4 separate regions of the Homo sapiens genome follow, and regions 1, 3 and 4 are each linked to region 2. The links are contacts of gene promoters, found by promoter capture Hi-C in human tissues and cell types (Jung and others, 2019). All regions are on one chromosome and are shown on one strand. Each heading gives the region's core, a stretch centred on a gene start or on the middle of the fragment in contact. The rest is flanking DNA. Distances are from core to core; before and after follow the strand shown. Region 1 has its middle 14 kb from the start of CCDC74A. Region 2 holds the start of CCDC74B (coiled-coil domain containing 74B). Region 3 has its middle 32 kb from the start of CCDC74A. Region 4 has its middle 54 kb from the start of CCDC74A.

What was found. The method cuts DNA at HindIII sites, captures the fragments that hold promoters and counts their contacts. A contact is called where the count stands out against the background at its distance.
Region 1: a contact is called between a fragment that was not itself captured here and the fragment with the promoter of CCDC74B in region 2, in 1 of the 25 tissues and cell types used here (dorsolateral prefrontal cortex).
Region 3: a contact is called between a fragment that was not itself captured here and the fragment with the promoter of CCDC74B in region 2, in 1 of the 25 tissues and cell types used here (lymphoblastoid cells).
Region 4: a fragment that was not itself captured here is called in contact with the fragment with the promoter of CCDC74B in region 2 in 1 of the 25 tissues and cell types used here (lymphoblastoid cells).

Annotation. Positions count from the first base shown.
Region 1 is chr2:131,538,936-131,545,662 of GRCh38, reverse strand. No RefSeq gene overlaps it. Among named protein-coding and RNA genes, the nearest start is that of CCDC74A, 14 kb to the right of the region's middle. RefSeq lists enhancers at 1,460-1,959, 1,960-2,461. The HindIII fragment of the contact is 9,764 bases long and covers 1-6,727 here.
Region 2 is chr2:130,141,999-130,148,861 of GRCh38, reverse strand. CCDC74B (coiled-coil domain containing 74B) reads left to right here and starts at 3,750. Exons shown (of 8, transcript NM_001258307.2): 1 at 3,750-4,115; 2 at 5,549-5,593; 3 at 6,679-6,729. The coding sequence starts at 3,866. RefSeq lists an enhancer at 5,635-5,714. The HindIII fragment of the contact is 11,101 bases long and covers 1-6,863 here.
Region 3 is chr2:131,556,170-131,563,154 of GRCh38, reverse strand. No RefSeq gene overlaps it. Among named protein-coding and RNA genes, the nearest start is that of CCDC74A, 32 kb to the right of the region's middle. The HindIII fragment of the contact is 3,687 bases long and covers 3,668-6,985 here.
Region 4 is chr2:131,578,621-131,585,829 of GRCh38, reverse strand. No RefSeq gene overlaps it. Among named protein-coding and RNA genes, the nearest start is that of CCDC74A, 54 kb to the right of the region's middle. The HindIII fragment of the contact is 3,126 bases long and covers 4,397-7,209 here.

The DNA.
Region 1 (6,727 bases), core at 2,816-5,315, 1.4 Mb before region 2:
AGGAAGCGGAGCTTGCAGTGAGCCAAGATCGCGCCACTGCACTCCAGCCTGGGCAAAAGAGCAAGACTCTGTCTCAAAAGAAAAGGAAAACACACACACACACACACACACACACACACACACTGTGACCCCCTAAACTTTGTTAAGAATGAGACAATGCTGCCCCTCACGCCTAGCTCAGAAGGAGGGCACTCTCCAGAGACTGCAAAAGAAGGGGGAGGACCCCTTTCCCTAAGTGCACCTCCACCACTGCCACCGAGGCCCATGGTACAGCACCCGCAGGTTCCTCCCCACCCCAGGTTGGGCTGGGCCCTGCAGCGCTCCTACTCCCCCTTCCCGGCCCCCAGACTTGCTGCCACTACCACCACTAGCACCAATGCCAATACAATTGCTGTCGCCGTCAATGCAGCAGCCCACCCTACAAGGTTCCTACCACCTTGCCCCCGCAGGCACCCTCCTACCACTCCTGTCGAGCTGCAGTCTCTGTGGCTGCCACCAATCACATGAGGCGAGCTGCAGAGTCACGCCACATGCAGGCTCCAGCGTACCACAGGTGATTCCTTCTCCTCCTCCTCCAGCCTGGCTTGGAGCAGCTAGACGGGCAAAGCCAGAAAAGCCTAGAATGGGATGCAGGGAGTGGTAACGTTAGAGCCTCACCTTGTCATGCTGGCCACTGGGTGGCAGGGACCAGCTTCAGCTAAGGCACTCACACCCACCCACCGAAGTCCAGCCTCTCTTTCTGGCAAAAGGTGGCCAGGAACTGGGGCGGGTGTGAGTGCCTATGCTGAAACCACCCCCATCCAGGTGCAACTGGCCAGAAATTGCTGGGCCCACCAGGGCTGCACTCCTTGGGGAGCAGGAGTAGGAGAAACTCAGACCCAGCCAGCCCTCCCCACTCAACTGCTGGTTCCCGTTCCTGACACCTCCACCCACAGTGCCCTGTTCCCACAGTCCCCCGCGATGCCCACTAATCCCCACCCGGTAGTCCCAGGTGGTCTCCCCAACACAGAGCATGGGGTGTGGGCGGGAGGTGCAGGCCGGAGAACCGCAGTGGGTGTGGGGGTCCTGCCATGCTCAAGATTGCACGAGCAGGAAGAGATCACCCTCTAGAGTCTGGAGTACGGAAAGGAGAAGAGTCACCCGAAGGAGCAAGGAGACCATGGCTGTTGCTGTCCCCACCACCTCTGCAGCCGACCAACACCACTGGCAGTATAGCCCCCATAGCAACCCTAACCTGACCCCTGCCGCCGGCAGTGTAGCCCTCGGACAGCACACCCAACACACCCTGTGCCAGCTGCAGGCAGTGTAACCCCAATACCCCCCCAACCACCCCCTCCACAGGCAGTGTAGCACCCGATAGTGCCCACAACCTGACCCAGCCACAGGTGTTGCTGCACAAGACAGTGCCCCAAAATCGCCGCCCCCACCCCGCCACGGGTAGGGGAGCTCCTGATAGTGCACCCTGAGCAAGGGCAGTGCAACACCTGACAACACTCCTAAACCACCCCCCACTACCAGCATCGTAGCTCCGAATAACCACCCAACCCACTCCTTGCCCTGGGCAGTGCAGCAGAAAATAGCGCCCCTAACCCATCCCCCGCCACCAGCAGTACACGTTAGTGCACACAACCTGCCTCCCCCGCCCACCACCCCCGCCACCGTGGGCAGTGTAGCCCCAGATAGCCAGCCAACACCGCACCCCCACCGCCAGCAATGCAACCTCGGAGAGTGCCCCCAACCAGCCCCCTGACACAGGCAGTGCAGCCTCGGGGAGTGAGCCCCAATAGGACACCCAACCCCTGCCCCCACATGCGGGCAGTGCATCCCCAGCTGACTCACCTACACCAGGACATTTCTACCACTCTGGCCGAGCTGCAGTGTCCGAGGTCACCACCAACCGCAGCGAGGCGAGCCGGGGTGGCTCAGGCTCCAGCCTCCAGCATGCCTCGGTGCCGCTCCCTTCTACTCGTCTTCCTGCCCAGCAGGAGAAGCTCCTGCTGCCCGCCGCCCTCCTACCGCTCTGTCGACACCACCAACTGCAGTGAGCCAGTGTCCGAGGCTCCAGCCAGAAACAGGTGGCAGCCATGCCGGATACCAAACGCGAAACTGAAGAGCCTAAAATGACCTGACACCGCCTCAGCATGCTTTACGTACTGAGGTCGCGCACATGCAGTTCCTGGACTACATGTTCTGATTGGATGAGAGAAAAAACCTCTAGGCCTACTCTGATTGGACTTTATTTTCATGCTGTGATTGGTTGTCTCAAGACTTGCTCTCATCCAATCAGAACATGATAATAAAGTCCAATCAGAGTAACCCTGGAGGGTTTTTCTCATCCAATCAGAACATGCAGTCCAGGAACCCTCATATATATATATAACCTCAGTATATGAATGCTCCCGAAGGGAAGGCAGGCCCTTCCAGGTTCCCGTACTTTCTTATGGAGCTGCTCAGTGACCGGCTTAGAGGACCGGGAATGGGTAATTGGAGGCTGGAGCCGCTCCACTGTGGTTCGCCTCGCTGCAACTGGTGGTGACCGCGACCGAGATGGCAGTGCGGCGGGAGCGGTAAGAAGAGGAAAATAGTTTTGGGATAGATGGAGGGGGTAAAGAGGGTGGTTAGTCCCAAAGGGAAAAGAAGTTAGCGAGCAGGAGAACGCGTTGCAAAAAGACGGTGGGGAAAAGATGGTGGGAAAAAAAGTTTTTGGGTAGATGGTGGGGGAAAAACAGGGTGGGGAGCGCGAAGGAGGGAAGGTGTTGCAGAAAGATGGTGGGTAAAAAGTTTATGGGTAGATGGAGGAGGAAAAGAGGGTGTCAAGGGGAGGAGGAAAGAGAGGATGGTCGGGGGGAGAAACAGCGTTGAGCAGTAGGGAGAGAAGGTTTTGTGAAAAGACAGTGGGGAGAAAAGGTTTTGGGAAGATAGAGGGGGAAAAGAGGGTAACAGGTGGGGGAAGGGAAAAGGGTAGCCAGCGGGAGAAAGACAAGGTTTTGCAAAAAGATAGTGGGCAGGAAAGAAAGACGGTGGAGAAAAAAAAGACAGTGGGTAAAAAGTGTTTGGGTAGATGGAGGGGGGAAAGAGGGTAACGAGGAGGAGGAAAGAGGGTGATGAGAGGGAGCAGGGAAAGAGAGTTGGGAAAAAATGGGAAAGTAGTTTGGGGTAGATGGAAGGTAAAAAAGAGAGTGGCAAGCAGGATAGGGCAAAGAAGAGGATGAATGGGAAGGGGGGAAGACTGAAAAGACGGTGGGGAATATTCTGGGGGATAGATGGAGAGAGAAAAGAGGGAGGTGAGCAGGAGTGGGGAGAAGGCTTTGCGAAAAGACTATGGGGAAATGTTTTCGGGTAGATGGAGAAGTGGCAAGGAGGAACGGGGGGAAAAGACGATGAGGAAAACAGTTTTTGGGTAGATGAAGGGCGAAAAGACAGTGTTGAGCGGCAGGAGTGAGGAGAAGGCTTTGGGAAAAGACGGGAGAAAACGTTGTTGCTTAGATGAAGGAGCAAAAGAGGGTGATGAGAGTGGGATGGGGAAAAAGAACGTGGCCAGGGAGAAGGGGAAAAGACGGTGGGAAAAACCAGTGGGGAAAGTGTTTGGGTAAATGGATGGGGAAAAGGGTGGTGAGTGAGAGAGCAGAGAAGGCTTTGCAAAATGATGGTGGGGAAAAAGTTTTGGGGTAGATGGAGGAAGAAAACGGGTGGCGAGGGGGAGGAGGCCAAAGGCGGTCGGGAAAAGAAGGTGGGAAAATAATGGTGGGAGACAAAGATTTGGGGTAGATTTTTTTAAATCAGATTATTTGTATTTTTGCTTTTGAGTAGTTATTTATATATTTTGTGTATTAACCCCTTGGCTGATGGATAGTTTGCAAATACTTTCTTCTATTCTCTGGGTTGTTTCTTCGTTCTACTGATTTCTTCCTGTGCTTTGCAGAAGTTTTTAAGTTTTATGTAATTACATCTTTGCTTTTGTTGATTGTGCTTTTGACAAGTTTAATGTAATTACATCTTTGCTTTTGTTGCTTGTGCTTTTGATGTCTATTTGAAAATTCCTTGTCCTAACCAGTTTCATGAAGGATTTATCCTATGTTTTCTTCTCTAGTAGTTTTATAGTTTCAGGTCCTACATTTAAATCTTTATTTTGAGTAGATTTTTGTATATGGTAAGATAACGGCCTAGATGTATTCCTGTACATGTGGGTGTTGAGTTATCCTAGCAGTTTATTGAAGAGATTGTCCTTCCTTCCCGAATGTGTGTTCTTGGTGCCTTTGTTAAAAATGAGTACACCATAAATGCGTGAATTTATTTCTGATTTCTCTATTCTGTTTCACTTGTCTATGTCTGTCATTCCTTCGTTTCTCTGTTTCTCCCCCGCCCCTTTTTTTGATAGTATTATGCTGTTTTGGTATTACCATGCTTACTACAGATTTGTAGTATGTTTTGAAGTCAGGTGTGATGCCTCCAGCTTTTCTTTTTATTCCAGATTCTTTTGTCTATCTGAGATATTTTGCTTTTCCATGTGAATTTTAGGATATTTTTTTCTATTTCTATGAAGAATGTCTTTTGTAATTTAACATGGATTGCATTGACTCTAGATCACATTGGGTGATATAGATATTTTAACAATATTCTTCTAGTGCATGGACATGGGATATCTTTCCATTTACTTGTGTCTGCTTTAATAGCTTTCATCTGTGTTTTATAGTTTTCATTGTGGGATCTTTTGTCTTTTTGGTTAAGTTTATCCCTAGATATAATTATTTTGGTAATGAAATAGCTGTCTTCATTTCTTAGGTATTTCATTATTGGTGCATGAGTGTGCTACTCATTTTTATATGTTGATATTGTATCTTGCAACTTGACTAAATTATTTCTAGTAGGTGATTTTGTGGAATCTTTAGGGTTCTCTGTTTCTCTATGTGTATATATATATATGATCATGTCACCTGCAAACAGAGAGAGCTTGACTTTCTTTTTTCCAATTTGGATGCCTTTTATTGCATTCTCTTGTCTAATTGCGCTACCTAGGACTTCCAGTACTATGATGAATAAAAGTGGTGTAAAAGTAGCCACACTCGTTCCAGGCCTTAGAGGAAGAGTTTTAACCTTTCCCCATTGATTATGATGTTAGCTGTGGGTTTGTCATATATGGCCTTTATTGCACTGAGATATGTTCCTTCTGTACTCATGTTGTTCAGTTTTTGTCATGAAGGAATGTTTTTTTATTTTTTCAGCATCTACTGAAATGATTATATGGTTTTTGTTCTTGATTCGCTGAATGTGATGTCGCACATTTATTTATTTGTGTTTTATTGAATCATCCTCATATTCCTGGGATGAATCCCACTTGATCATGGCAGATCATCTTTTTATTGTGTTGTCAAGTGCAATTTTCAAGTATTTTGCTGAGGATTTTTTTGCATCTGTGTTCATCAGGGATATTTAAAATGCCTGTGGTTTTCTTTTTGTGTTGTTTCCTGGTCTGGTTTTTGTACCAGGGTCATGCTCTCCTCATAGAACAAGTTTCGAAGACTTACTTTGTCTTCATTTTTTGGGGAATATTTTGAGTAAAATTGGTATTAGCGCTTTTAAAAACGTTTGGTAGAATTCAGCAGTAAAACCGTGATTCTTGTGTTTTTGTTTGACAGAAGACTTTATTACTGCTTTGATTACATTACTCATTATTGATCTGTTCCGGTTTTTTGTTTATCATTCTATCTTGGGAATTTGTTATGTGTCCAGAAATTTATCACTTCTCCTAGATTTTCCAACTTGTTTTTATATAGGTGTTTTTAGTAATCTCGTATAATCCTTCATATTTCTGTTATCAATTGTAATGTCTCGTTTTTCATCTATGATTTTGTTTTCTTTTTCTTTTCCTTAGTCTAGTTAAAGCTTGTCAGTTTTGATTTTTTTCTAAAAAATCCAGCTCTTTGTTCCATTGACTTTTTGTATTTTTTGTTTCTATTTTTAAAATTTCTTCTCTAATCTTTATGATATTTTTTGTACTAATTTTAGCATTTTATTTTTCTCGTTTTTCTCATTACTTCAGGTATACTGTCAGGTTAGCTATTTGAGATCTTTCTACTTCTCTGATGTAGGCATTTATACCTATGCCTTTTTCCTCTTACAACTGCTTTTGCTGCATCCCACAGGATTTGTTATGTTGTGTTTCTATTCTTTTTTCAATAAATTTTTAATTTTCTTTTTATTTTTTTCATTTATTTATTTATTGTTCATGAGCATGTATTTTAATTTCCATGTATTTGTACAGTTTTTCCTCCTGTTATTGATTTCTAGTACTATTCCACTGTGGTCAGAAAAGATACTTGATATGATTTCAGGTTTTGTTTTGTTTTGTTTTGTTTTTGAGACGGAGTCTCGCTCTGTCACCTAGGCTGGAATGCAGTGGCACGATCTTGGCTCACTGCAAGCTCCACCTCCTGGGTTCACGGCATTCTACCGCCTCAGCCTCCCCAGCAGCTAGGACTACAGGTGCACGCCGCCACGCCCAGCTAATTTTTGTATTTTTAGTAGAGACGGGTTTTCACTGTGTTAGCCAGGATGTGATCCGCCCCCTTCGGCCTCCCAAAGTCCTGGGATTACAGGCATGAGCCACCGCGCCCGGCCATGATTTCAGTTTTTAAAAATGTGTTGTGACTTGTTTTTTGGCCTAACACATAGTCTGTTGTGGAGAATAATCCTCATGCTATTCAGTGGAATGTGCATTGTGCAGTTG
Region 2 (6,863 bases), core at 2,501-5,000:
ATTCCTTCTTCTGAGGAGCCAAGAATTGTGGTTGCTGAAGACCCATCCGGATTCACTGCCAGTGACTTGGACACCTTCCACTGCTAACACTATTAACTCGGACACCTTCCACTGCTAACACAATAACACTGGGTTATTGTGTTTATTTGGAGAGTGCGTATGGTTTAAGGAGATGTGTATGGGTGCCAGGTTGACAAGGGGTGGACTTGTGATGGTTAATTCTATATGTCAGCTTGTCTGGGCCACCGGATGCACTCATATCTGGTTACACATTATTTCCTGGCAGGTCTGTAAGGGTGTTTTCAGAAGAAAGTGGCATTTAAATTGGTGGTGCAAGCAGCCATGCATGCATTTCTGGAGTAGCTTCCCTATAGCTTGCAGGAACCAGAGCGGGCAATAAGAGCCCCATCCTCCAAATACTGGGGATCTGTGCTCTGATTGATGATGGCTGCTGTTGATTGTGAAAATGCAGACAAAGAGGCAGGCAGCCACTGCTGCAATCTCCACTGCTATGTTTGCAACGTCCCTCCTCAACCCTCACTGCCTCCCTGGGTACACACCTTCCAGGAGGTTTTTATGGATCAGCACCTCCTCCTGCCTTCATTTTTCTTTTCTCCTTCTTGGGAACCAGATGTTTAGGACTAGGACATTCAAAAGCAACCATATACCAGGCACAGTGGCTCATACCTGTAATTTCAACACTTCTGGAGGCTGAGGGAGGAAGATTGCCTCAGCCCAGGGGTTTGAGACCAATCTGGGCAACATAGCAAGACAAAAAAAAAAAAAAAAATTAGCCAGGCGTGGTGTGTGCCTGTAATCCCAGTTACTAGGGAAGCTGAGGCAGGAGGATGGCTTGAGCCCAGGAGTTCCAGGCTGCAAGTGAGCTATAATCGCGCCACTGCACTCCTGCCTGGATGAATTTCTCTCCACTCAGGATATCCTCCCTCCCAGCAATAATATTGCTACCATTCATTCCAGCTATCCATAAACCATAATTACTAAATACATGTTGCCATAATTTTTTTGAACAACCTGTCATCTATTAAAAATAATAATAAAGATTATATTTTATTTTACTTTATTCCTTCTCTAATGCACTTCCCTTTTTTTAGATCCAAATTTCCTATATCTTTTTCCTTCTTTTTTTGAAACAGGGTCTCTCTGTGTTGCCCAAGCTGGAGTGCAGTGGTGCAATCACGGCTCGCTGCATCTCAGCCTTCTCAGTAGCTGGGACTGCAGGTGTGCACCACCATGCAGGCAAACTTTTTAGTTTTTTGTGGAGTCAGGGTCTGGCTATATTGCCCAGGCTGGTCTCTAACTCTTGGGCTCAAGAGATGCTCCTGCTTTGGCCTCTCAAAGTGCTGGGATTACAGGCATCAGCCATGCACCTGAGTTTTCATTTCTGTTGTGTTTTTGACTTCTTACATTTTCTTTTAGTTTTTTGAGATGGAGTCTCACTCTGTTGCTCGGGATGGAGTGCAGTGGCAGGATCTCAGCTTGCTGGAAACTTCACCTCCTGGGTTCAAGCAATTCTTTGGCCTCGGCCTCCTGAGTAGCTGGGATTACAGACATGCACCACCATGCCTGCCTTTCTTTTTTCTTTTTTTTTTTTTGAGATGGAGTCTTGTTCTGTCGCCCAGGCTGGAGTGCAGTGGCATGATCTTGGCTCACTGCAAGCTCCGCCTCCCGGGTTCACGCCATTCTTCTACCTCAGCTTCCCGAGTAGCTGGGACCACAGGCGCCCACCACCATGCCTGGCTAATTTTTTGTATTTTAGTAGAGATGGGGTTTTACCGTGTTAGCCAGGATGGTCTCGATCTCCTGACCTCATGATCCGCCCGCCTCGGCCTCCCAATAATTTTTGTATTTTTAGTAGAGATGGGTTTTCACCATGTTGCCCAGGCTGGTCTTGAACTCCTGACCTCAAGTGATTCACCCACCTCGGCCTCCCAAAGTGTTGGGATTAGCGGTGTAAGCCACTGTGCCTGGCCAACTTCTCACATTTTCTTTTCTTTTCTTCTTCTTTTTTTTTTTTTTGAGATGGAGTCTTACTCTGTTGCCCAGGCTTGAGGGCAGTGGCATGATCTCGGCTCACTGCAACCTCCACCTCCTGGATTCAAGCAATCCTCCCACCTTAGCTTCCCAAGTAGCTGGAATTACAGGTGCATGCCACCACACTAGCTAATTTTTGTATTTTTTAGTAGAGATGGGGTATCACCATGTTGGCCAGGCTGGTCTTGAGCTCCTGACCTCAAATGATCTGCCCAACTCAGCCTCCCAAAGTGCTGGGATTACAGACATGAGCCACCCTGCCTGGCCTTCACATTTTCTTTAGATTATTTCTTAGAACGTCTACCTCTCTGTTCCCATTATCAGTCTGTAATCTCATGTTGTCCACTTTTTCCATTAGAGCCCTTAGCATATTAATCATAGTCGTATTCCATTTCTTGGTCTGATAATTCCAACATCTCTGCCATATTTAAGTGTGGCTCTGATGCTTGCTGTGTCTTCGAACTGTGTTGTTTTTTATTATGCCTTGCAAGTTTTTGTTGAGGGCTGGTCATGCTCAACCAGTAAATGGACTTTCTGTGTGAAGTTTTATGTTGGTCTGGTTAGGGGTTGTGCCATGTGTGCTGTTTGTTAACTGGAGGTGTCAGAGGCTTAAACCTCCTCTAGTGTCTTAGTTTTTGTCTCCCTGTTGTCTTTACGGTTTCCTAGAGATTTCTCGAATAAGCTCTGAGATGAGCAGTTCTTTCACTTGTATCCCCTGTTATTATACAGGAGCCCCGCTGATGTGGCAGTAAGATGTGGGGAAGGAGAGCCAGAGCAGGCTGGGGTTAGCTATGTTCCCTTCCTCCAGGTTTGTTGGTGTCTGGCAAAATTATGATTGGCCTGGCTGTGATTTTTTTTTTTTTTGAGGGCAGGCCTTGTAAAAAAAAAAAAGACTTTTTATTTTTATTATTTTTAAATTTATTTATTTATTTATTATTTTTTTTTTTTTTGAGACAGAATCCCACCCTGTCGCCCAGGCTGGAGTGCAATGGCGCGATCTTGGCTCACTGCAACCTCCACCTCCTGGGTTCAAGTGATTCTCCTGCCTCAGCCTCCGGAGTAGCTGGGATTACAGGTGTGAACCACTGCGCCCGGCCTCTTATTTTTAGGCAGCATCTCACTCTGTCACTTAGGCTGGAGTTCAGTGGTGCCATCATAGCTCACTGCAGCCTCGACCTCCGGGGTTCCAGCAATCCTCCCACCTCAGCCTCCCGAGCAGTTGGGACTACAGGCGCAAGCCACCATGCCCGGGTTTTTTTTCTTTTAATTTTTATAGAGACAGGGGCTCACTTTCCATCCAGGCTGGAAAGGATGCCTTTTATTATTATTATTATTATTATTATTATTATTATTATTATTTTAGATAGAGTCTCTGTCGCCCAGGTTGGAGTGCAGCGGTGCGATCTCGGCTCACTGCAACCTCTGCCTCCCGGTTCAAGCTATTCTCCTGCCTTAGCCTCCGGAGTAGCTGGGATTACTGGCTCCCGCCACTACGCCCGGCTAAATTTTGTATTTTTAGTAGAGTCGGGGTTTCGCCATGTTGGTCAGGCTGGTCAGGAACTCCTGACCTCAAGTGATCCGTCCGCCTCGGCCTCCCAAAGTTCGGGGATTACAGGCGTGAGCCCCGGCGCCCAGCCCTGGATGCCTTGTAAATCACTACTCACCCAGGAAGAGCCAGCGACAGGCCCCGCCCCCGCCAAACGCCTGGCGCCCTCCGTCGCCCGGTTTCCATGGTGACGGGGCGCCAGGCTAGGGCGGCCTGGCCACTGAGCCGGGGTGCAGTGGCAGCGGGAGAGTACCTGGCGATGGCGATATGAGCGGTGCGGGGGTGGCGGCTGGGACGCGGCCCCCCAGCTCGCCGACCCCGGGCTCTCGGCGCCGGCGCCAGCGCCCCTCTGTGGGCGTCCAGTCCTTGAGGCCGCAGAGCCCGCAGCTCAGGCAGAGCGACCCGCAGAAACGGAACCTGGACCTGGAGAAGAGCCTACAGTTCCTGCAGCAGCAGCACTCGGAGATGCTGGCCAAGCTCCATGAGGAGATCGAGCATCTGAAGCGGGAAAACAAGGGTGAGCCGGCGCGGGGCCCTAGGCCGGCCCTGCCTCCCCAGGCACACTCAACACTGCCGCTCCCGCAGCACAGAAACACAGCCATCAACTCCAGCACACGCCTGGGCTCAGGGGGAACACAGGACGGTAAGCCCGCCCTGCCACGCTGAGCTGTCCCCTCCTCCCAGAGGGAGACCCGCGTGGCCCCCGGGCAGTGCCGAACCTGTCTGCCTGTCTCCTAGGGCAGCAGCATTTCAGATGCTGACTCCGCCAGTCCTCTCCTCTCCAAGCAGGGTCAGACACACCTCTGTTAAAAACTTTATAGAGGGGCCCGGGCGCGGCGGCTCACGCCTGTAATTCCAGCACTTTGGGAGACCGAGACGGGCGGATCGCGAGGTCAGGAGATCGAGACCATCCTGGCTAACACGGTGAAACCCCGTCTCTACTAAAAATACAAAAAGTTAGCTGGGTGTGGTGGTGGGCGTCTGTAGTCCCAGCTACTCGGGAGGCTGAGGCAGGAGAATGGCGTGAACCCGGGAGGCGGAGCTTGCAGTGAGCCGAGATCTTGCCACTGCACTCCAGCCTCGGTGACAGAGCGAGACTCCGTCTCAAAAAAAACAAAAACAAACAAACAAAAACTTTATGCAGGGAAACGTGCCCAAGTGCGAGTGCGCAGCTCAGTGAATTTCTTCCAGCTAAACACATCGGATCAGGAGCAGGCATTCCCCCGCCCCCCACCCCGTCCCCGCTTCGCCTGTGCCCATGCTGTCCTCCGGCGGGGCCTTCCCAACTGCACCCTTAGCTGCTCCTCACCCCCACGCCCCCCTTTCTCCCTCCCTCCTCCCCCACCCCTCCTGCCCCGAGCAGGAGGAGGGCCCGCCAGGATGTGGGATGTGGCTCCGCTCCTCGCTCTTGCTTCAGGAGGGCTCCAGCAAGGGCACCAGTGCCCGCGGCCTCCTCTCCCGCCCCGTTCCCTGCTGCTGCCTTACCTGAGTGCCGAGTATCCCATCACCAGGCGTCTGTTTTGTCAGGACCCCGCTTCCCCATGTCTTCTTGAGCCTCAGGACGCCCCGTTCCTCATATCTTCTTGAGCCTCCCCCCAGTCCCTGATGCCCACGGGATCATGACACCGCCATAGCCAGGGATTCCAGAGTTCACCTCTGTACCCCTAAAGCCCAGGTTCTGCCTGGCAGTGTGGACGCCCTCCAGTCATCTCAGATGGATGAGGCTGATATGCCAGGTGGGCTCTGCCTAGGGAACAGGCAGGGGCCACTCCTGGCCTGACACCCACGACAAAGGCATGGTGGAGAGCGGGATCCATGGGGCAGGGCCCAATCAGCCAGTGGGGGGGCAGGACTTTCGGGCTCAGCAGCCAGGAGAGGACAGGCCAGGCTTCTTCTCTCAGAATGGCTGTGGTTTCACAAGTGCTGAGGAGAGCGTGTGCTTGCTTTCAGATCTCCGTTACAAGCTCATAATGAATCAGACATCACAGAAGAAAGGTGAGAACTGGGCCCTTCAGTTCCTGATGGGATGCTCTTGCCACCCAGGGGAGCCCCTCCAGACTGTCCTTGCCCACCTGGCTGCACTGGCCCCTGTATGCCAACCCAGTGGGGACAGGTTCTGGGGGACCTGGACAGATGCCGCTACCTCTAGCCGTGGCTGGATGATGTTACGCAGCCAAGCACAGCACGTGCTGCTCTCAGGAAGCCCAGGGCCTGAGGTCATTGCAGTGGGGAGGTGGGCACAGGGTGCTCCCCAGACCTCCCTCCTCCAAGTAGAGCTGAAATGGGAAGGAACCCCTGGGACAGCCCCTGCCCTGCTAGATCTTTGCCTCAGATTGCTGCTGTGGCCAGGCCCAGGATCTCCAGCCCTATGGCTCTGAGTCCTGACATGCTGGGGGCCCAGGGGCTCTGGACACACTCCATCCAGGGATCCCTTCCTGCCATCTGGGCAGCAACCATGGGGACAAAGGGAGGAAGCAGAGTCCTGTTTCCTTGCCACTTGTCCAAGGCACTTCCCCATCCTGACAGCGGCCCCCACCCAGCCCAGGATTCTGGGTTGTGGTCTCGAGCTCACTTCCCGTTATCTTTGGGGCTGGGGCTGACATCAGGAGGACATCTGACTGGTGGATGGAGCCAGCCTGGGAACATCGTAGCTGGGGCAGTGCCTAGGGCTCTCCCTTCCCAGAGAGACATGGAGAATGGGGTTGAGGGAGGGCCCTTCCCTAGCCGCTGTGGCAACTCCAGTGAGCTGTTCTGGGCAAAGTGTGGCCCAAGTCGGCAGCCCCAGCCCTGCAGTGCTGGGGACGCTGACAGGACACGGGAAGAGGCCATGCTCTCCCTCGGGACCTGCTGTTCCATGTGTCCCAAGCCCTCCTGCTTTCCAGATGGCCCCTCAGGAAACCACCTTTCCAGGGCCTCTGCTCCCTTGGGCGCTCGCTGGGTCTGCATCAACGGAGTGTGGGTAGAGCCGGGAGGACCCAGCCCTGCCAGGCTGAAGGAGGGCTCCTCACGGACACACAGGCCAGGAGGCAAGCATGGGCGTCTTGCGGGCGGTAGCGCCGACACTGTGCGCTCTCCTGCAGACAGCCTCTCCACGTCAAGCTTCCAGTCTGTCAAGTCCATCTCTAATTCAGGTGAGCAGGCTGGCGTCCATGTGCTCACAGGGGTGAGTGCCCCACGGGGACCCCAGCCTGGGTGGCCTCTAGGGGTGCTGACCAGGTACCCTCTGCTGGGCCAAGCTCCAGGATTTGGGGATGAAGGTGCAGCT
Region 3 (6,985 bases), core at 4,262-6,761, 1.4 Mb before region 2:
ACATAGGCTTTTAAATTGGCTTTGATGGAACTTTATTCCATAGCAGGAATCTTAGATAAGACTTTTTCAAAGCCAAGCCCAGCCATGGATTTGTGCCATCAAATACCTATGATTTCAGTGAATTTCCTCTCCTCTTGAGGTTCCAAGATAAACCTGGGGCTTCTGCACCTCTCAGAAAATGACATTCTTTATTTACCACAGGTCAAAATCCTGTACAGGGACTGTGTACACAAAATATGAGGCCAGTTTTTCCAAGGGCTTTATTGGCTTGATAAGTCAGTTTTGATTCCTTAAAGGAAAGCACACCATTTCAGTCAAACCCTTGATAAAATAACCAAATTCTCCAACTGTGTCCTATTCCAAAATAAAACAGATTCTTCTTGCACTTATGCAAGTAACTATACTGCCATAAATTAAGAATACTCATAGTTTCCAAATTCTGGAGAAATTAGGTAGAGAAAAACAAATATGCTCCAAATTTTGTTCACAGGAATATACAATAATTTATTGTTAAAAGCTGTAAATAAAAGTTTCCTTAACTCTGAAAAACTAAAAGTATTAGCAATGTTTTAAGCAAAAAGTCAAAAAGATAACTTCAGTTTTCTATTGGTTCAGTTATCTCAGTTAACTCCTGTTCTGTTTGATAGTCATGAACATTTCAGCTCTCCATGAGAATTTTGAAATTTTTTGCTTTATTCCAGTGTAACAATTTCCAAAATTATCAGAAAACCTGAACTTAAGTGCACCTGTTAGAGTCCTATAGCTGATTATAAACCCACCTTATAAAGAGGGTTTAAAACGAGACAAAACAAGACAATTACCTGTGGATGAAAAAAAATTTAAGGCAGCCATAGTTAAAAGACACAATTGACAAGTGAATTTGTTACCTCCGTGGCACACAATGATTTTAACATAACAATTATGATTATTACAAATAATGTACACTAAGTTATATCAGAATTACAGGAGTTTCCCATCATTTTGGAAACATACCAAAAACATATACAAATGGATCTGAAAGAAAGCCAAACACCATTTCATATTTGACAATGTTTCCAAACATTTTATAGCAGGTAAGCCAAATTATGTCATTTTTAGACTTTAGAGAACCTAATGTCTTAAAGGATTACTTAGGATAGAAAAAGACATAATATATAATTTGATTTTGGGAAGTTTGTCAAATATAAAATGTTTAAAACACTTGATGTTAAAAATAGGATTACAGGTCATTGTAAAGTCATTTATTTAACCAAAGTGATAATTTAAGAATTTTTTAAAAACAGCATGAAGCCAATTACATTTGTTTGCGGCATTATTCACAATAGCAAAGACTTGGAACCAACCCAAATGTCCAACAATGATAGACTGGATTAAGAAAATGTGGCACATATACACCATGGAATACCATGCAGCCATAAAAAATGATGAGTTCATGTCCTTTGTAGGGACATGGATGAAATTGGAAATCATCATTCTCAGTAAACTATCACAAGAACAAAAAACCAAACACCGCATATTCTCACTCATAGGTGGGAATTGTACAATGAGATCACATGGACACAGGAAGGGGAATATCACACTCTGGGGACTGTGGTGGGGTGGGGGGAGGGGGGAGGGATAGCATTGGGAGATATACCTAATGCTAGATGACGAGTTAGTGGGTGCAGCACACCAGCATGGCACATGTATACATATGTAACTAACCTGCACAATGTGCACATGTACCCTAAAACTTAAAGTATAATAAAAAAAACTTAAAAAAAAAATTTTGTAAACAATCTATAAAATGTAATCTTGATTACAAAATATAATTCCATCAGCCTTTTATAACCTGTACTAAGCAGTTGGTTAATGCTTCAAGAAAACCTTGTTAATCTGACACAAGCGTCCATATACTGGTTTTGCATCAGTGTGCCTTTGACATTAATAAGTAATGCATAGAGAAACTGAACCTACTTTATTTTTCAAAATCGGCCCTTACAATCTTATGCTCCCACCTCTTTCACAATAGTCCCTGGGTCTTGAGGAGTTGAATAGCTTTCATCATTTCTTGCCCTGTGTCTCAGGAATGCAGCAGTTTATTTGAATTGGCATCTTCTATGGGGCCTGAAGATGAGCCTTTAATTGCTGTGGGTGTTTAAGATTAGCAGGACTTAGTGTCCTTTTTAGACCTAGGAGTTAAAAGCCCTGTAACTCAATGTTGCAAGGATTTTAAAAGCATATACAGGAAGACACATGGATGTAATGACCTCAATTTTTAAAAAATCTCAGGTTTTTTTTCCTAAGCAAACCAAAACTTAATATGACAACTTTATCATATAGAAGTTTTTGGGTTTTTTAAACATATAAATCCTTGTTGTGACTTTACACTGACTGTTTACGACATGGTCAGACTTTCTGATTTATTCTGAACACCCCCTCTTTTTAAACAACCAAGTATTTTATTTTAGGACTAAACTTACTAGACGGGATTCTTTCTTAGGTAATAGTATTTCTCTTTAAGCTCTTTTTACCTCAAAAACAACCTCTTTACAACTTTCTTTACAGCTTTTTTTTATTTCCTGGTTCCTTTTACCTTGTTTTATACATAACTTTAAATAAGCTTTGAATTACACAAAACTTGTTCAACTTTTTTTTTTTTTTTTTAGAAAAGAAGACACACTTTTTTTGGCAAGAATGTTTTCCTACAATATGTTTATTGGAAAATACCCAAATAATGAAATATCTATTATTTAATTTTACTTTATATTCTAAATTATGACGTTTGTCTACAAGTACTTATCCCACTACATTTACCTAATTGTTTACCTAGATTATTTATGAAATCTGTGATAGTCATGATTTAAAGTTATGAAACCACCACTGCAAAATTATAACTGAGACAGTGAAAAAAGATTTGGCCTAACTGGCTCCATCTTGCTCATAACCTCCAAACCGTCTTTGTTCATTCCTGCACATAGGCCGAACTGACACTGGGAGGAACCTGGTTTATACTTTAGCTTTGAAACAAAGGCAGTAACAGTCCTTTCCTTACTGTCTGTGGACTAGACTGCCAAAAGCCACAGGATTAGAAGTGCTAGTAATCTTACTAAATTCAACATGCAGCTATTTTTATTAAACCCATATCAATGTCTTACTTATTAAAAATTACTCAAGTAAAGATCATTCCATTTTGGGCTGAGTTTATAGTTTTGAAACCCCCCCATGCCAAATTTTGACACCTTATAGTATCTGGCAGGAATATGTATGAAATCGGTTGATTACTAAATGTAAACAAAAATGTATGCTGCCAATTCTTAAGACATTTCTAATATTGTTTTACAATAATTTTAAAGCTAGCTTATTAAAGATTTTACTTAAGTTACATAAAGTTGAAAAACCATTTGACTAGTCTTTTTTAGTATCTAACTTAAGTACTTTTATTTTTCTTTAAGCCAATTAATTAGAGCTCTTTCATATATTTTTGGTAGTGGAACATCCTGTATACAACACACAAATACATATAAAAATCTGTTAGGCATATCGATGGAAGTACTGAAACCGCCTTTACAAAATTATAACTAATGAAATTATGACAGTGAAAGAAATCAGACCTAACCGACTCTATCTTGCTTCTAACCCTTAAGCTGTCCTTGTTCATTCCTGGGTGTAAGTTCAACTAACTTTGGGAAGGAATTTGGTCCACGGTTCGACTCTGAAAGCAAATTGGTAATAGCTCTTTCCTGAAAAGAACCCCTTCTTGCCTGGGGAGCAGTCTGCCTTTGCAGGACTAACATATTAGCTACAAGATTAGAATGTACAGTTTAGGGGTCATGCAGTCTCTGGCTCCGAAAGTCTGAACCTCCCCTAACTCCTGCAGGTAACATCACATCACTACTGTAAAACCTAAGATCAGGGCTTGTTATGTGTTGCAGACCCTGCCCAGGCCGGTAATCTGGCCCAACCAGTTGTGCCATCATACCCATGAATAGAAGACAGCAAGAAAAGCTAACTTCAACCCCCTATGATTCCATCTCCAACCTGACTAATCCCCAATTCCCAAGCCCCTACCCACCAAATATCTTTAAAAACTCTGATCCCCGAATGCTCGGGGAGACCGATTTGAGTAATAAACTTGGGTCTGCCACACAGCCGGCTCTGCGTGAGTTACTCCTTCTCCACTGCAGTTCCTCTGTCTTGATAAATCGGTTCTGTCTAGGCAGCGGGCAAGGTGAATGCATTGGGCTGTCACAGTACATTTTATAGATTTAAAGACCTCCGCCCTTTTTTTCTCTCTCAGACTTTCAGATTCTTGATAACTTGTTTCACAACCCTAGGCAGCTGTCAAACTAAACAGCCTTAAATTGAAACATTAAAGGAAACAACTCAGGTGAAAATCCAATAGCAAAATTTACTTCATAAAGCACAGAAAGTAAGAGTCCGATGGTGCTACAGGAAGACACTAATATTTTTCTTCGAGCCAAATTAAACTACACTCTTCCTTAAAAACCCAAGAGTAGTAGCCTCTGTTGCAATAACTATTTTAGTCAAAAAAAAAAATCAAGTGAAAACAGAATTCAGTCAACTGAGAAGAAAAAGACAAAAAATAAAATAAACACATTTGCTCAACAACAACAAAAAGACAAGGTCTTAGAAGAGTAAAACAAACAGAACAAAAACAAAAACATGAAGGTCTTCCAAATACAAACACACACACATGCACACACATCTGGATGTTACCCTTTTAATTAAGCTTTTACACAATTGTGCTCCTTTAAACAAAACTCTTTTAATCTTATTACCATATTTCAGCGAGGACAAAATGCTGCTAAACTAACAATGGTCACACAAATTATGATTTCTGAGCACTCTAAGTGTAAGCACAAATTAACACCAGCTGGTTGTTAAATGTTAACTTTATTCTTTAAAAGGAATTTGCAAGACAGAATCCAAAACCAGTTTCTTACCTAGCGATGGGTCTCAGGCTGTAAACTGCTCTCTACCATCCTAGAAGCATATGCTAGTGAATTTCTTTAACTTCATCAGTCACCAACATAACGGAAAACCAGAACACTGCACACACCTGAAACTGCATCAGACTACATGGCTTGTGGGCAAGAAAGAATGAAAAACATGAATGAAAAGAAAGAAACATACAAAGGATCATAAGAAGCGTTTGGAGAAAAACACAGCTGATGAGGCATTTTTTGGAAAAGGTGTAAGTAACTAACATTACTAACTAGCAAAAAACACCAGAAAACAGAAATTAATTACCAAACCAAAACTGGATAAAGAAACCAAAGAGGCTTTTCTGCAAAGAACACATAAAACTGAAAACAAGTATGCTTGTTAACACCTGGTTAACATCACTAATCATGACAAAAATGAAAATCAGAACAAGACTCAGATACTGTGTCTCTCTCGGTGGAATGAGTATAACAAAGACCTTCATGTATCTTAAAAGAAGGGAAACCACAAAATGCTGCTGTGAATTTCCAAAGAGGAGAGCTCTCTTATCCACAACTGTTAACAGGTAAATTGGTACGCACACTACAGAGGCAGGAGGTTCCTCAGAAAACTGAAAATATGACAACCATTTCACTGAGCTGTGCTGCTACTGGAATCACATGAATCAGTACACGGAAGACACATCTGCCTTCCCACGCTGACTGCGGAACCAGTCGCAATAGCCAAGATAAGGAATCAACCTACCTGTCCACCCCCAGAGGATGAGATCCAGAAACTGCAGTATCCAGTCACGACCAGATACTCTACAGCCAGACACGGGTACTGAAATCAGGTCATCCGTGGCAACACTGTGGAACCTGGAGGACATTATGGTAAATGAAACACACTAGGCAGGGAAAGACAAACCTCGCATCACCTCACTCATGAGGAATCTAGGAAACTTTATCTCACACAGACCTACAAAGCACCATTGTGCTTGCCAGGGTTGGAACAGAAGGCTGGGCATGGGTGGGCATAGGAAACAGGTACAAAGTGACACGTTGCGTAAGAGGAATGAAACCTGCTTTTCTATTCCTCAGCAGGATGATTATGGAAAACTTTACCAAAGGGTAGTTTTCAAGACAGCCAGAAAGGAGGGTTCTCGCTCTCCTTACTCAAAGACATGAAAACTCTACAAGGCAAAAAATGACGCTAAATACCATGATTTCATCCCTATACGATGCATGCATGGACCCAAATGTCCCTCTCGACCCTCTAGTTGTCCATCTTTAGGACAGGGCTAATTTTGTTTCTTGAAAGCAACATAGAGAAACAATGCTAAAATTCCCGTGGGACCACAAAATGCCCTGAAACTCCAAAGCCATGCTGAAACACCAAAGGTCAGATGGACAAAAGGCTCGCTATGCAGTGAAGGGCACTGGGCTAGGTGGCTAGACACATGCAGATAAACAACACTGGAGCCTTAACTCTCATCAGATGCAAAAACTAACCCAAGGTCAATGAAACATTTCAGCAGAAGACCTCAAACTATTAAAAGTCCTACAAGGAAACCTAGGACATATCTTTCTCAATACGGACTTTGGAAAGCATTTAGACAAAAAGCAACAGCAAGAAAAACCAAAAGGACAAGCTGGGCCTAAGAAACTATAACACTGCCAGATAGCAAAATACATCACCGGCACAGTAAACACACAGGCTACAGGATGGGAGAAAATGTTCCCAAACTATGCTTCTCACCAAGGTCTAATAGCCAGACTCTAACATGACCTTAAAAAAATTAAGAGGCAGAAAAACAAACCATTCAAACAATGGGTAGAGAACATGAACAAACACCTCAACATCACTCATCATCAGAGAAATGCAACTCTCACGAACAGAGATATCATCTCACATCGGTCAGAATGGCCATTTGTCCTAAGTCCAAATATTTACATGGTGGCAAGGCAGTGGAGGAAAGCAAACCCCGCTACACTCTTGGGAATAAAAACTAGTTCTCACACTATGAGAAGTGGTTTGGAGGTTCCTCAAAGAACTTAGA
Region 4 (7,209 bases), core at 4,710-7,209, 1.4 Mb before region 2:
ACCCCCATGGGCGAGTGACACTGGGAAAACTAGAGGACGTGTGGGTTCTGCCTGCTGTCTTTGCGTGTGGAGACAGGGTCCTGCCAACCAGTCTCCTGAAGGGGGAACTGCCTCCTGTGGGTGCCATGTGTGCCAGAATCCAAGCATGGGTGTGCACAGGGGCGGCTGAGCCCACTCACAACCCAGGACAGAGTTGCTTGGCTGTTTTGGGGCTGGGAGAGATCTCGAAAAGCCTACCAGACCCAGCATCATCAGTGGCTCTCCCACTCTCAATGCCTTGGTCTTTCTGCTTTTTTGGCTGTCACATTGGCACATTTCTTGGTGCCACCAAAACAACTCAAAATAATCTCTTTTCAGTCATGCCTGCATAACATAATTGGCTTCAGGTTTCCTGAAAACAGAGAAGGTGAAAATCCAGAAAAAAGGGCTACTTGTTTTCTTCCTCTGATGGTCCAGCCTGTCTTCAACCACAGGACTCCACGCTGGCCTGGGGTCTGAGCCTCCTGGTTCAGTCACTGTCTAGCTTCGATCAAAACCATGAGCAACTGAAGCAGAATATGGAAGTGGAAAATGCTCTGGGTTGTCCCCATGTTGGGAAATTATTGTCCAACAAACGAGTAGCTGTCCAAAGCACTGCAAGACAACCAGTGTGCCTTGGAGCTTGTCAGAGGAAGCGTTCAAGAGTCTCATTCAGCAAGTCTCACTTCTTCTTTATGTTCTAAATCACAACACAGAATCACAGGCCAGGCTTGCAAGAAGCGAACATTAACTTCTATCCACATGTACTTAGCCAGGGCTCATTTGAATGGCCACATGTAGCAGCAAAGAGGCTGGAAAGGAGTGTAATGGTGTGACTAGTGGAAAGAGGAGACAGGTTTGTTGTTCTTCACCCCATGTATACTAAGGATGTTTTTAGAAAAAAAAAGAAAAACTTTTTTTTGCTCAAGCACAGTTTATGCAACAAAATGGGATTCAGAATCTAATTTCACAAAATAAATCCAGAGGAGAGACTTGAAGGAAAAGGGCAAAGATATAACTCAATAAAGCCCATAACATCACAGAATACGGTGATGGTGATGGTTTCTAACCTTGAGAAAGTAAGTGGGTTCTTCAGTTTCTAAAATTTATTTATCAGTTCTTGAACCCAAGAAATCAAAATAGATCATAACAGAAAAAAATGACCTAGCTTTCACCTAGACAAGTTAGAAAATGCAGAAGTAGCCTGGCAGAACTACAACCATCTGACCTTTGACAAAACCACAGAAATAAGAAATAAAGAAAAGGCTCACTATGCAACGAATGGCGCTCAGATACATGACTAGCCATGTGCAGGAGAATTAACACTGCAGCCCTGCTTCTCATCATATGGAAAATTAACTCAAGATCAACCAAAGATTGAAATAGAAGACTTCAAATATAAAAGTCCTAACAGACAACCTATCAAACACCTTTCTCAACATAGGCTTTTGCAAACCACTTAGACAATTTAGTACCCAAAAGAAATGCAAGAAAAAACAAAAAGTACAAGTCTGGCCGAAGAAACTACAGACCTGCTGGACAGCAAAGCAACTGCCAACACAGTAAACACACAGCCTACATGATGGGAGAAAATGTTCCCAAACCAAGCATCTGACCAAGTTCTAAAGCCAGAATCTAGAGGACCTTACCTAAATCAAGAAGCAGAAAAATAACACAAGTAAAAAATGGGCAAATGACACAAACACACTAGTCAAAACAAGACTTAAAAAAGACCAACAGACAGGAGAAAATGCTCAACATCCCTAATCATCAGAGATGAGGTACCAGTGCCATCACACACCAGTCAGAATGGCCATTTGTCCAAACACAAAACATATTTGTGTAGCAGTAGATAAAAGCAAACACAGCTACACTCTTGGGGTAATGCAAACTAGGTCTCAAACTGTGGAGAGCAGTTTCAAGATTTCTCAACAACAACAACAAAGAGGGAAAGGAAGCAGAGATACCCTTCGACCCAGCAATCCAACCCTGTGTATCCACCCAAGGGAAAAATACATGTGTCTATCAAAAAGACACAGACATTTGCATGTTCACGGGAGTGCTACTCACAGGAATAAAGACGTGGACCTGACCTAGATGCCCAACAACAGAAAATGAGATGTTTTTAAATGTGATACCTATACACCACAGAATACTAAGAAGCCACCAAGGAAAATCAAACACAGAAACAAAATCATGCCCACAGCATCAACACAGACAGAACTGCAGGCCACTCTGCTAAGCGAACTCAGGCAAGAGCAGAAGACCAAACACCGCAGGTTTTCACTTACAGGCAGAAACTCAACACCGAATACACACGAACGTAAAGATGAAATCAACAGATGCTGGGTACTACCAGACAGAAAAAGGAGGGAGACAGGAAGCCTTGGAGGAAGAATGATCCAACTGGTGCTGTGTTCACCGCCTGGGTGATGGGTACGCTAGGACCTCAAGCATACAAAGTCTGCTATATAGCCATGTAGTGAAATGAACCTGCAGGCGTCCACCCCTCGATCACAATAAAAGTAGCTATCATTTTAGAAAACCCAGTTTTGGAAATAGAAATAGAAAAAAAGGAAGAAAATACAAAAAAACACACAAAACGAAAGAAAAAGCCTACAGTGGCCCAATCCATCCATTAGTGGCATGAACACAGAAAGATAACCAAATGGACACAACGAAGGAGCCAAATAATCAGCCCACAATTATAAACACTGAATCCATAGGATTCTTGCTTTTCCCCCAAAAGCACACCAAAAGCACAATGGTTGAAGAAACTGGGGGGTCACATGCAAAGGACTGAAATAAACCCTTCCCTTACACAAGACACAAAAAGCGACACAAAATCCACTGAACACTAAAGGGCAATTGTGAAACCAAAACCTCCAAGGAAAACACATAGGGTGCATGTCTAGTGTGGGAAAACTTGAACCTGTGCACCTAAGCCACAAACAGAAAACACATAGGAATCAAATACCCATAGACCATACAATGGCTTCGCCATCTTGCTTTTCTTCTCAAAGGGACACAGAAATCACCGCTAACAAAAGCTAATGTGACCATGTGAGACTAAGGACAACTTCAGAGCTTCACATAGCTTCAACACTGGAGAGAAAACAGTGAACCCAACAGAAGACATCCCACAGACTGGGAGAAAATTATGGAAAACTGTGGATCTGGAAGGGCTTCTTATCTGATATATTCAAGAAACTAATGGTCCCAAGTGGACAAAAACACAAAAACCAATACACATGCTAAAATTGCCCAAAAGACTGGCATAGGCATTTCTGAAAAAACCTGCAACAGACTCGCGGGTAATAGAAGTTCCTCCACATCAGTAATCATCCCCTAAATGCAAATCCCAACCACACTCAGATACTGCCAAACTCCCCAGAGAACGAGTATGACCAGGAACAGCAATAAAACCTTTTGAAGATAAGGGCAGTGTAGATTTGCAGACAGAGAAACTCTCACACACTATTGGTAGGAATGCAAATTTGTATACCCACTGGGAGAGACAGCAGGAGGTTTCTGAAACAACAATACAACTACCAGTTCCCGTAGCCATCCCAACATTGGGTATACCAGCAAAGCCAAGGAACCTTGTAACTTAAGGAGATATTTGCCTTCCCGTGTTTGATGAAGTACTCCGGACAATAACCAGGGTATGGAAGTAACCTACCTGTCCATCCAGGGAGGAAGAAATGCAGGAAATGAAAGATGCATGCACGATGGTATACTCCTCAGCCATCAAACTTCTGGACAGCAGGTCACTTCCAGCAAGGTGGAGAAAGCTGAAGGACATTAAGTCAAAGGAAATGAGCCAGGCAGAGGAAGACAAACACAAACACAGCACGATCTCACGCGCATGGAATCTAATGAAATGCATCTCACAAAGGAGCAACGTCAATAGTGGGTACCAGAGGCTGAGGGGAGGCTTGGAAACAGCTACAAAGTGACGCTCAGATGAATGGCAAGAATTCTGGTGTTCTACAGCTTAGCAGGGTGACTAGGCTTAACAGTCTCCTAGCATGATATTCAATATAGCGGGAAGGGGTGATCGGGATACTCTCTCCACCAAGAAATCCTCACTATAGCCTGAAACAGAGACACGAGGTCCTGTAATTTGATCACAACAGCACTGATCCATATGTCAAATGGTCCCTTGCGCCCTTAAAGTAAAAGCATAGACCATGTGAAATTTTTGTTTTCAAATAGGATCACAACATATTTCTGAAAGTCCTGTGGGACAATGAAGTGCCGCGCACTCCCAAAGCAGTTCCTACACACACAGTCGGTGGAGCCATCACACTCTTCCACTTTAACCTACTTCCCAAAGCTTTAGTTACCCAGATTCCTACACACACAAACTCGGTGGAGCCATCACATGCTTCCACTTTAAATTACTTCCCAAAGCTTTAGTTACCCAGATGATTTGTGATAGGCCTTAGCAGAGAAACACAGACCAGGGGACACAATGAAGGTGCCTAGGAGTAAGTTCAAATTGGTATAGCCTAAGCACATGTTTAGAAAGAACCACAAACGTCACCACAAGAAGGGAGAGTCTGTCCAATACAGCGTTCTGAGAACTGGATATCCCTAGGCAAAATAACAACATAGGGTCCTTATTGTGTGAAATTCACAATCATCTATTCAACATGAATGAAAGACCTATACCCAAAACTTGAAACTATCACTCTCTGAGAAGAAAGTATATGGTGTGTGGATACCTGGGCCAACCTGGATCTATGCTTACAATTTGCAAAAAGGAAAATGAAAACAATATGGGGGAAAGAAAATACAAACAACAAACAAGCAAAACTCACAATAGATTGGTATGCTAGTGAATGTCCTTTATTTCATCAGTAACCAATGTAGTGGAAAACCACAACACTGCACACCCCTGAATCTGCATCAGACTCATCAGACTATATGGCTTGGGGGAAAGAAAGAATGAAAACAATGAATGAAAAGAAACAAACATCCAACGGATGATAAGAAAGGTATAGGGGAAAACACAGCTAAGGAGATTTTTTTTAGAAAAGGTGTAAGTAACTAACACTACTAACTAGCAGAAAAGAGAAGGTAATTAGCAAACCAAAATTGGGCAAAGAAACCAAAGAGTCTTTTCTGCAAAGAACACCTAAAACTGAAAACAAATGTACTTAACACCTAGTAGTTAATATCACTAATCATAAGAAAAATGAAAATCAGAACAAGACTCAGATATCGTGTCCCTCTCAAAGGAAAGAGTATTACAAAGAACTTCATATATCTTAAAAGAAGGGAAACCACAAATGTTGCTGTGAATTTCCAGAGAGGAGAGCTCTCTTGTCCACAACTGTTGACAAGGTAAATTAGTGCGCACACTACAGAGGCCACCTGGAGGTTCCTCTAAAAACTAAAAATACAACGACCATTTCACTGAGCCGCGCTACCACTGGGTGTGCACTGGTAGCATACGTCATCAGTACACAGAAGACACATCTGCCTTCCCATGCTGCCTGTGGAACCAGTCGCAATAGCCAGGATAAGGAATCAACCTACCTGTCCACCCACAGAGGATGAGATCCAGAAACCACAATATCCATTCACAAACAAACACTTTTCAGCCAGACACAGGTACTGAAATCATGTCATCTGCGGCAACATGGTGGAACCTGGTAAATGAAACACACTAGGTAATGAAACACACATTATGGTAAATGAAATACTAAGCAGAGAAAGACAAACCTCACATTACCTCACTCATGGGGAATCTAAGACCCTTTAATCTCACATAGACCTACAAAGCACCACAGTGCTTGCCAGGGTTGGAACAGAAGGCTGGGCACGGGTGGGGATAGGAAACAGGTACAAAGTGACATGCTGCGTAAGAGGAATGAAACCTGCTGTTCTATTCCTCAGCAGGGTGACTAGAGAAAACTTTACCAGAGGATAGTTTTCAAGGCAGCCAGAAAGAAGAGTTCTGGCTCTCCTCAACTCAAAGACAGGAACACTCTACAAGGCAAAAAATGACACTATATACCCTGATTTCATCACTATCTGATGCATGCATGGATCCAAATATTCCACTCTACCCTCTACTTGTACACCTTTAGGATGGGTCGATTTTGTTTTTTGAAAGCAATGTGAAGAAACAATGAATGCTAAAATTCCCATGGGACCACGAAATGCTCTGAAACTCCAAAGCCATGCTGGGAGATCCAGACGATGTCAGATGGACCACGATCTCCAATTTCAAATTTCACAGAAAAGCTACAGACCCACCTCCACCTAGACAGAATAGGAAACCCAGAAGCAACCCACATACCTGCAACCATCTGACCTTTGAAACACCAAAATTCAGACGTGGAAAGGGCTCACTGTGCGATGAAAGGCACTGGGATAGTGTCTAGCCACTTGCAGATGAACAACACTGGAGCCTCACCTCTCACAAGATGCAAAAACTAACTCAAGGTGAATGAAAGATTTCAGCAGAAGACCGCAAACTATACAAGTCCTACAAGAAAAACTAGGAAATACCTTTCTCAACACAGGCTTTGGTAAAGAATTTAGATGACTTGGTCCCTAAAAACAACAGCAAGAAAAACCAAAATGGACAAGTTGGGCCTAAGAAACTAAAACACTGCCAGATAGCAAAATAAATCACCAGCACAGTAAAAACATAGCCTACAGGATGGGAGAAAATGTTCCCAAACTACGCTTCTGACCAAGGTCTAATAGCCAGACTCTAACATGACCTTAAAAAAATCAAGAGGCAGAAAAACAAATAATCAAACAATGGGCAAAAAGACATGGAGACATACTTGTAAAAAAAAAAAGACGTACAAGTGACCAATAGACAAGAAAAAAACATCAACATCACTCATCATCAGAGAAATGCAACTCACACGCACACTGAGATACCATCTCAAGTCGGTCAGAATGGCCATTTGTCCTAAGTCCAAGCATTTACATGGTGGCAAGGCAGCAGAGGAAAGCAAACACTGCTACACTCTTGGTAGGAATAAAAACTAGTCTCCCACTATAAGAAGTAGCTTGGAAGTTCCTCAAAGAACTTAGAAATACCATCCAAATGAGCAATCGCATAACTGGGTATCTACACAAAGGAAAATAAATCATAAATCCTTCTTTCAAAATGACACAGGCATGGATGTGTTCTTGGAAGTGCTATTCACATGAAAAAAT